Linked DNA regions of Homo sapiens: region 2 is linked to region 1. Evidence: promoter capture Hi-C in human tissues and cell types (Jung and others, 2019). All regions are on one chromosome and are shown on one strand. The core of a region is centred on a gene start or on the middle of the fragment in contact, and the rest is flanking DNA. Distances in the headings are between cores, read along the strand shown.

Evidence for each region. The method cuts DNA at HindIII sites, captures the fragments that hold promoters and counts their contacts. A contact is called where the count stands out against the background at its distance.
Region 2: a contact is called between a fragment that was not itself captured here and the fragment with the promoter of SSH3 in region 1, in 1 of the 25 tissues and cell types used here (dorsolateral prefrontal cortex).

The regions. Positions count from the first base shown.
Region 1 is chr11:67,301,803-67,305,808 of GRCh38, reverse strand. It overlaps SSH3 (slingshot protein phosphatase 3), which reads right to left and starts at 2,279. Exons shown (of 14, transcript NM_017857.4): 1 at 2,118-2,279; 2 at 1,654-1,691; 3 at 802-1,036. The coding sequence starts at 2,183. ANKRD13D (ankyrin repeat domain 13D) reads right to left here. Exons shown (of 15, transcript NM_207354.3): 14 at 3,986-4,006; 15 at 3,325-3,690. The coding sequence ends at 3,477. RefSeq lists enhancers at 2,092-2,611, 2,612-3,129. The HindIII fragment of the contact is 10,588 bases long and covers 1-4,006 here.
Region 2 is chr11:66,868,031-66,872,036 of GRCh38, reverse strand. It overlaps PC (pyruvate carboxylase), which reads left to right. Exons shown (of 23, transcript NM_001040716.2): 4 at 1-13; 5 at 166-350; 6 at 557-722; 7 at 840-985; 8 at 1,145-1,262; 9 at 1,584-1,735; 10 at 3,073-3,191. Among named protein-coding and RNA genes, the nearest start is that of LRFN4, 13 kb to the right of the region's middle. RefSeq lists an enhancer at 3,156-3,265. The HindIII fragment of the contact is 6,756 bases long and covers 1-4,006 here.

The sequences.
Region 1 (4,006 bases), core at 1,030-3,529:
AGTATTTGAGCATGAGCGCTCCAGCTCCACCTGGACTCCCTTCCTCCGTGGGGCTGGAGTCCTCCTCCCCTCTGCCTGGGTCCCTCTAGCACACCCTCCCCCAGTGTGTGTCCAGCAAGCCTGCCTTGTGCACTGGTCCATTTAGGGACAGCTCACATCATCAGGAAAGTCTTCTACTGGTTGAGGAGAAACATGCCTCTGGAATTCCCACCCCTTGGACCTAATTTGGCCCTATTGGCTCACACAGGACAAACCTCCCCTGTTCTTTCCCTTCCAGAGACCTGCAGCCATGACCTCGCCCTGTCAAAATATCTCTGCCCAGGCCGGGCGCGGTGGCTCACGCCTGTAATCCCAGCACTTAGGGAGGCCGAGGCAGGCGGATCACGAGGTCAGGAGATTGAGACCACCCTGGCTAACACGGTGAAACCGCATCTCTACTAAAAATACAAAAAAAATTAGCCAGGCATAGTGGCGGGTGCCTGTAGTCCCAGCTCCTCGGGAGGCTGAGGCAGGAGAATGGTGTGAACCCGGGAGGTGGAACTTGCAGTGAGCCGAGATCACGCCACTGCACTCCAGCCTGGGCAACAGAGCGAGACTCCATCTCAAAAAAAAAACAAACAAAAAACAAAACATCTCTGCCTGAAACAGCAGGGTCACTGGGATATGGGTAACCCCAACACTCCCCAGGCTGCCCCCTGCCCTCACACCATTGCTCCCCAAGCAGACACATACACAGGGCTCCATTCTGCCCTCAGGCGTGTCTCTTCCCCCCACCCCCCGGAGCTCCACATGGGCCCTCACCAGGCGGATGTCATCCTGCGGCCTCAGCAGCTGTACCATGAGGTGCAGGTGCTGCCTCTGCTCCTCCTGCTTCTGGGGACTCTGGGATCCTTGCCCGAAGTCTGTCTGGTCCCCGTGGAGCTCCTCCTCACTCGGGGCCTTCTCTGTTGGCTCAGAACTGGCCTCTGCTGCATCATCATTGTCCCCTCCATCCTGCAGTCCCAGGACAGCCCCACGGAGCACCGCAAAGCTCTGCCTGGCAGGGCAGTGGGCAACTGTCATGGCTCCTCATTCCCCTTAGGGTAGGGGCTCTCAAAGTCTAGCATGCATCACATTCACCTGCAGCCCTTGTCTACACGGATTCATGGGCCCCCACGCGGTCGATAGGTCTAGAGTGGAGGCCTGAGCATCTGCATTTCTAACCCCTCGGCCCCTTGGCAATATTGCTGAGAACCAGTCTTGGGGGCTTCCAAGCTCTCAGCCCCTCTACTCTAGCTCATCTGTGGGGAGAGGGGGCTGCTCCTTTTCCCCTCCCACCTGTTTAACTCAAGTGCTGCTGGGAACATGGTCGGGGACCCAGGAGTCCTCAGGCCCATCATGCCCTCCTGCCGTTCGGCCCGTGGCCACCACCTGAGCCAAAGCCCAGGGCAGTGGATGAGGAAGCCCCAGCTGACCAGGGGGAGGGTGAAGGCAAAGGCCGCCCTACCGCGAGCCCACCAGCCGGCCCCACCGGGAACGCTGCCCCACAAATTTGGCAGTGGGCTTCGCTGCGCGTCCTCCGGGGAGCTTTCTGTCCCTGCAGCTGGAGCCCAGGACGGCCGTGGCCAGGCCCGGGGCAGACGGAAGTGTCTGCGTGGGGGAGGTGGCGCTCACCTTCGCTGGAGTCGACTCCTTCGCTGGACCGCCTGGTCCTGCGGAGAGAGCAGCCCCAGGGCAGGGTGAGGGCGGGGAGGGCTGTCCCCTCCCCTCTCTCAGGAATTCTAGAGTTGGGGGAGGCCAGAAAAGGCGCCAGATGCCAATCGTCTTCCCACCCCAGTCCACGCCCCACCGGGAGGCCCCGTGGAGCCCCGGCCCAAGGCCAGGTCGGCTGGGTGGGCGCCGAGTGTGGCGGGGGGCGCGCTCAGATCGGGGCCTCCGCAGCCCGGGCGGCGCGCAGGGCTCTGGATTGTGCCCCGGCGCCAGTACCAGAGACCCTCGAGGCCCCCAGCGCCCTCCAGCCCGAGCCCCGGGGCCCCCTCCTCATGTCCCCGTTCGAGAGGAGCCCGCTGGCGGGCAGGACGCGCTCCCAAGCCGGGGCAGCAACTGCGTGGGCGGCACCACGGCCGGACCACACTCACCCAGGGCCCCACGGGCGTGGAGGCGCCGCTGCCCGGGGGCGAACGGCTCACTGTGACCAGGGCCATGGAGCCAGGCCGCGAGCACCTGGGCTGGCACCGGGCACGGCCCCTTCCCTCAACCCCGCGGACAGTCCTGGACCCGCAGGACCAGGAAGGACGGACGGCGCCACCCGGGCCTGGCACCTCCTCGGGGGCGGCCCTTAAAGGGCCAGACACTCGCCCAGCCGGGCCCGCGGAGCTTCTCAGGGCGGCCGGGCCCCGCCCCTCCGGTCTCCGCTGTTCGGCCCGCCCAGCCCCTGGGCACAGGTCAGGGGCGAGGCCGGGGGCGGGCGCAGGTGCGGAGCCCGGAGACCCGGAGGGCAAGAGCTGAAGGCCGGGAGTTTGGTCCCCCTCCCAGGAAGCGCCCGGCCCGGGCCGGCCCAGCGGGAGCACCTGAGCTGTTCTGGGCCTCCAGCGTCCTGTGCCCTGCAGAGGCGGGTCCTAGGGAGGCAGAGCTGAGGTGGGGAGGTGGGGGACAGGTCTAGAGAGGATCAGGCACGGCGCGCCCTCGGCCAAGGGCCCCCACCCCAAACATTTCTCCCTGCTGGTCGGCCTTCTCGTTCCCACTCCGCAGGAACCACTGGAAGACAGGCTTCCGGGGAAAACGGCCTGGGGTTTACAAATAACCCAGGAAGCCCATGAGGGGCTCTCAGGTCCACCTCGGAGGCGAGCAGGGCAGGGCTTCCAGCTACGCAGGCGGAAGTGACTTGCGCAAACCCACCCGCAGAGAACAAGCCGCAGTCAGGGCCAGGGCCTGGGCTTGGCTGCAGGGGTCGGCGTCGGGGCTCTTCCCAGCTGGAGGTGAATGGTGCCTGGGGACCCAGGCTTTTCCTCCCCAGCAGGCACGTGGGCCGGTTTCCAGAAGACTAGGCTGGGTGGCAGGACGAACCGGGTCCCCAGCAGGTGGGACAGGGCACAGGGGATCTGACTTTCACAGGACGCCTGCTTGGTAAGGACACGTGACTCTCGCCAGCTCCTTTCAGCCCTGAGGGGCGGAGGGTGGGGGGTGGTCTCCTCATTTTACAACTGAAGAAACTGAGGCTCAGATAGGCTAAGGGGACCATGACCAGGATTCAAGCCCAGGTCTGAGGCCGCCATCCACAGTGCCTCTCCACAGCGCCCCACCTTCAGGGTCCCCACCGCTCCAGCCCAGTGAGCAGAGCAGCCCTGCTGCGACAGTCTCTTTATTTCCATCTCAGTCTCCCCTGCCTGCTCATTCCTGGGGCTCCAGGCCCCAAGCTCAGCAGCAGAGAGTTTATAAATAAATAAATTACAAAAGCGGGCAGGGAGTGGCCTGGCCAGCCCTCCCGGGGCTATGGCTCAGTGCTCAGTGAGTGACAGCTGCAGGATCCGCTGTAAGTCCTCCTCCTCCTGCTGCCCGCGCCGCTCCCGCTCCTCCTGCTCCCGTGAAGACAACTCCAGGGCCAGGCGCAGCTGCTCTTCAAAGCTGGGTGGACCGGGGGCTGGGGGTGTCCTGGGAGGGGATCCTGGGCCCCTGGGCTCTGTGGACAGCTGCAGGCTTTCCTGGAGGGCCCTTCCAGGCAGGGCAGGGGAGGGAAGAACAGGCCAGTGAGCGCCAAGGCTGGGGCAGAAGCCGAGGGGCTGGGGACCGGCTTTGGAGGACAAAGGCAAAGACAGGGTGGCAAGCAGAGGAGACAAGGCAGGGCCCTGCTTCCCCACCCCTCACACCACCTTTGGTGGCAGATAGCGCTGCTGACAGAGGGTGGCCTTGCAGAGGGCCTGGGGTCCTAGCACCTTCCTGCTATCCCCCTCCCCGCCAAGCCAGGGCTGGGGGGACAGGGACCCAGCCAGCCCCATGAGGGGCTCACCGCTCCAGCTGAAGCTGTTCC
Region 2 (4,006 bases), core at 1-2,500, 430 kb after region 1:
GTGGCCAACAGAGGTGAGCACCAGTGGGGCCGGTGAGAGGAGCCTCATGGCCGCCCCAGCCTTGGCATTCTTCTCCCACTCACTGCCCCAGGCCCTGGCTTCCCACTCCCCTTTCTGCTTCTCCTAGGACCTAGGAATCTAACTTCTTGTTTCTTTGCCCTCTAGGTGAGATTGCCATCCGTGTGTTCCGGGCCTGCACGGAGCTGGGCATCCGCACCGTAGCCATCTACTCTGAGCAGGACACGGGCCAGATGCACCGGCAGAAAGCAGATGAAGCCTATCTCATCGGCCGCGGCCTGGCCCCCGTGCAGGCCTACCTGCACATCCCAGACATCATCAAGGTGGCCAAGGTGAGCCCAGTGGCCTGGCTGGGCCTGGACAGCAGGGACCAGGGAGTCTTAGTTGCCGCGGGGGTCTCTTGAGGCTGGCGTGCTCAGCGCCTCTGTGCGTGGGTGGGTAAACGGATGCAGCTCAGCAGGTTAGGCAGGGGAAGAGGCTGGCCGAGGCCTTGGAAGGGACTGCAAGGTACCGTCCTCTCCCTGACCCCCACCTGCAGGAGAACAACGTAGATGCAGTGCACCCTGGCTACGGGTTCCTCTCTGAGCGAGCGGACTTCGCCCAGGCCTGCCAGGATGCAGGGGTCCGGTTTATTGGGCCAAGCCCAGAAGTGGTCCGCAAGATGGGAGACAAGGTGGAGGCCCGGGCCATCGCCATTGCTGCGGGTGAATATAACGGGCAAGCAAGGGGTGGCCCCGCAGCTCCTGGAGAGGGTCCAGCAGGGAGGGGTGGCAGGGATTCCCGCCTGTTACAGAGACTCCCCCACACCTTTCTCCCAACAGGTGTTCCCGTTGTCCCTGGCACAGATGCCCCCATCACGTCCCTGCATGAGGCCCACGAGTTCTCCAACACCTACGGCTTCCCCATCATCTTCAAGGCGGCCTATGGGGGTGGAGGGCGTGGCATGAGGGTGGTGCACAGCTACGAGGTGAGTGAAGATGCCCAGGGCTGGGAGCAGGGCAGGGCAGCCTGCCGTGGGGGCAGGGGCGGACCACTCAAGGGATCTGGAAAGTGGGTGGGGTTCATGGCAGGGGAGAGGTAGCGCTGTGGGGTCTGAGGTCTGGCTGGCCCCTGCCCGCCCTCGCAGGAGCTGGAGGAGAATTACACCCGGGCCTACTCAGAGGCTCTGGCCGCCTTTGGGAATGGGGCGCTGTTTGTGGAGAAGTTCATCGAGAAGCCACGGCACATCGAGGTGCAGATCTTGGGTGAGTGGTCCTGACGCCCCGCCTGGGGCAGCTGGAGGCGGGAGCTGAGAGGCCCAGTCCTGGTGCCGTCACAGTGGCTGGCCTTGGGGACAGCCCTGGGGCCTGTCGGGCGCTTTTCCAGAGGACTCTGGAAAGTGGGCTCTAGGGGCCGAGCTGGCAGTTGGTCCTCACAGCCTTGGTGATGCTGGTGTCTCTCCTGGCAGCCTCTGTACCGCTGGCAGCCGGCACTGACTGGCGACAGTGGTTATGTGGGGGTGATGGGGCATTTAGGAGGCGTGTAGATTCCAGTAAAAGCTAAGCCCAGTTTACCTCCCTCCCCAGGGGACCAGTATGGGAACATCCTGCACCTGTACGAGCGAGACTGCTCCATCCAGCGGCGGCACCAGAAGGTGGTCGAGATTGCCCCCGCCGCCCACCTGGACCCGCAGCTTCGGACTCGGCTCACCAGCGACTCTGTGAAACTCGCTAAACAGGTGAAGGGTGGGCTTCCCGTGTTGGGACAGGAGCCTGTGCTCACAGGCCGGCAGGCCTCACAGTGGGGCGCTGGTTGGGGAAGGGGACCCTGAGTCCCCTTCTGGGGACTGGGGATGGGGAGAAGAGGGTGAAGGACTCTCCTGGGGGCCAGAAGTGGGTTTGTGGCATCCTTCCCATGTGCAGTTGAGGCACCTGGCCCAGAGGCCAAGCTTAGAGTCCAGGATGGCTGAGAAGAGGGAGGGAAGGAGCCCCAGCCGCCTCCTCAGCCCTGCTGCTACACAGACCTGGCTTCTCTGTGGCATCAGCTCATCCCTGTCATCAGGAGAATGAGATTCCGTGGATTCTGTCAAGATTGAGGACCATTATGAAGGCAGTCCTCCCTCATGTGCTTCTGTCTCCTACATCATGTTTATTATGATCTGTTTCCTTGCTCTGCACCCTCTGCCCATCTCTGCTTTTCTGGGACCTCTGGTCGGGGGGTCCTGGGCTGTGGAGGAGGCTGAGGTGGCAAGCTATCTCCCCACAGTGACCTGCCCCAGGACTGGCCTGGAGAGCACCTGCTGTGGCCAGGTGTGCAGCGGGGTCCTGCCCCCTCTTCTTCCCTGGCCTATAGGCAGCAGAGGATGCGTCACCTCCCCATGCCGAAGGCCGGGGTGTGCACTCTGCAGCAAGGCCTCAGCCACAGCTAATGCGAGGCATCGACCAGGGTCGCGTTTAAGTCAGGTCTTATTTACTGGCTTATACTATTTCACATTCCAGAACAGGTTTAAGGGAGGTGATTCAGTCTGGTTTATCGTTTTGGTGAGACCAAAAGTGAAACTGGAATTAGGGCTGAAATTTGAGTTAGAGTCATTATCTGTTGGTACCTCTCAAATGAATTTCTTTGGGTGGTGGTGGCCAGAGGTGACTGCGCAGTAGACTAGAAGGGGACTTTCTGAAAACACCTCCAAGCAGAAGCAGCGGCTGGGAGAGGCCTGGGTCTCCGTGTCTGGGTGGATGACACAGCCTTGGCGGGCAAGCCCAGGAGGCAGCAGGGCAAGGTGCCGAGCCTGGGATGGGTGGGGGCTTCTGCCCATGTCTCGTCCCAGATAAGCTGGGTGCAGCCATCTGTGGCTCCGGGAACCCTGGAGCCTAGTGGACTACTTGGGGGACGTGTCCAGGCAGGAGCATGACCTGGGCCCTGGGGTCTGTCTGCCATCTGTGGGGGCAGGGTTTGCCACAGGCCATTCTTTTACGGAACCAACCCAATGGGTGGGACGGAATCCCTGTCCTGAGTCCAGTGAGTTTGCCCAGGCCCTGCCTGTGCCCTCCCCTGCTCACGTGGCCGCCCCCACAGGTGGGCTACGAGAACGCAGGCACCGTGGAGTTCCTGGTGGACAGGCACGGCAAGCACTACTTCATCGAGGTCAACTCCCGCCTGCAGGTGGAGCACACGGTCACAGAGGAGATCACCGAGTGAGTGTGGGCGGGCAGGCGGGGCGGGAGGCGCGGCTTCTAGGATTTGCATAAAGTACAGGCGAAGTGGCTCCTGGGGCCAGCCAGGGGGCTTGCTCACTCCCCACATTGGTGGAGAGCAATGGGGATCCAGGTACTTAGTGTTTTAAAAGTCATTATTCTAAAAGCATTACGTGGTTATTATAAAAATCAGCACAAAGGAGCAAATAAAAATGACTGACAGCCCTCCTCTCTGTCAGGACGCTGCCGATTGCTCAGGCCCAGGTGCTCCCATCTGTCAGAGGAGTAAAGCAAGGCTCAGAGACATTTGGAGAGTTGCTCGGGGTCACACAGCTGGCGCTGGAACCCAGGCATCTCCGGCTGTCTTTGGTTTGCTCCTTTCCCGGTTTACCTGTTTTACTAGAGACATAGTTTGATGCAATAGAGATGTTTTATATAGAATTTTTATTCTACTTTTCAAATTATTTAATATTTGTTGAAGGCATTTCCCCAGGCCATAATTCTGTCTGAATACTTTTAGTGGCTGCGTACTATTCCGTCTTGTGTGTATTTCTTAACTTACATAGTCCTCGATTGTTAGGCAATTAGTTTGTGTGTCTGGCTTTGGTGGTTATTAAGCGTGTCACTTATCATCTGTGTGCCTGAATGTTTGGCTTCAGCTCTGAAGAGTTCTGAGGGTAAACCCTTCAACAGGATTATCTGATTGAAGGATAAGTAGCATCCCTCGGAACAGCCCTCTAGAGAGGTGGCACTAGCGTGCTCCCTGCAGGCACTGAGGATGACATTTTCAAAATCCGCCTGGTTTCTAAATGACA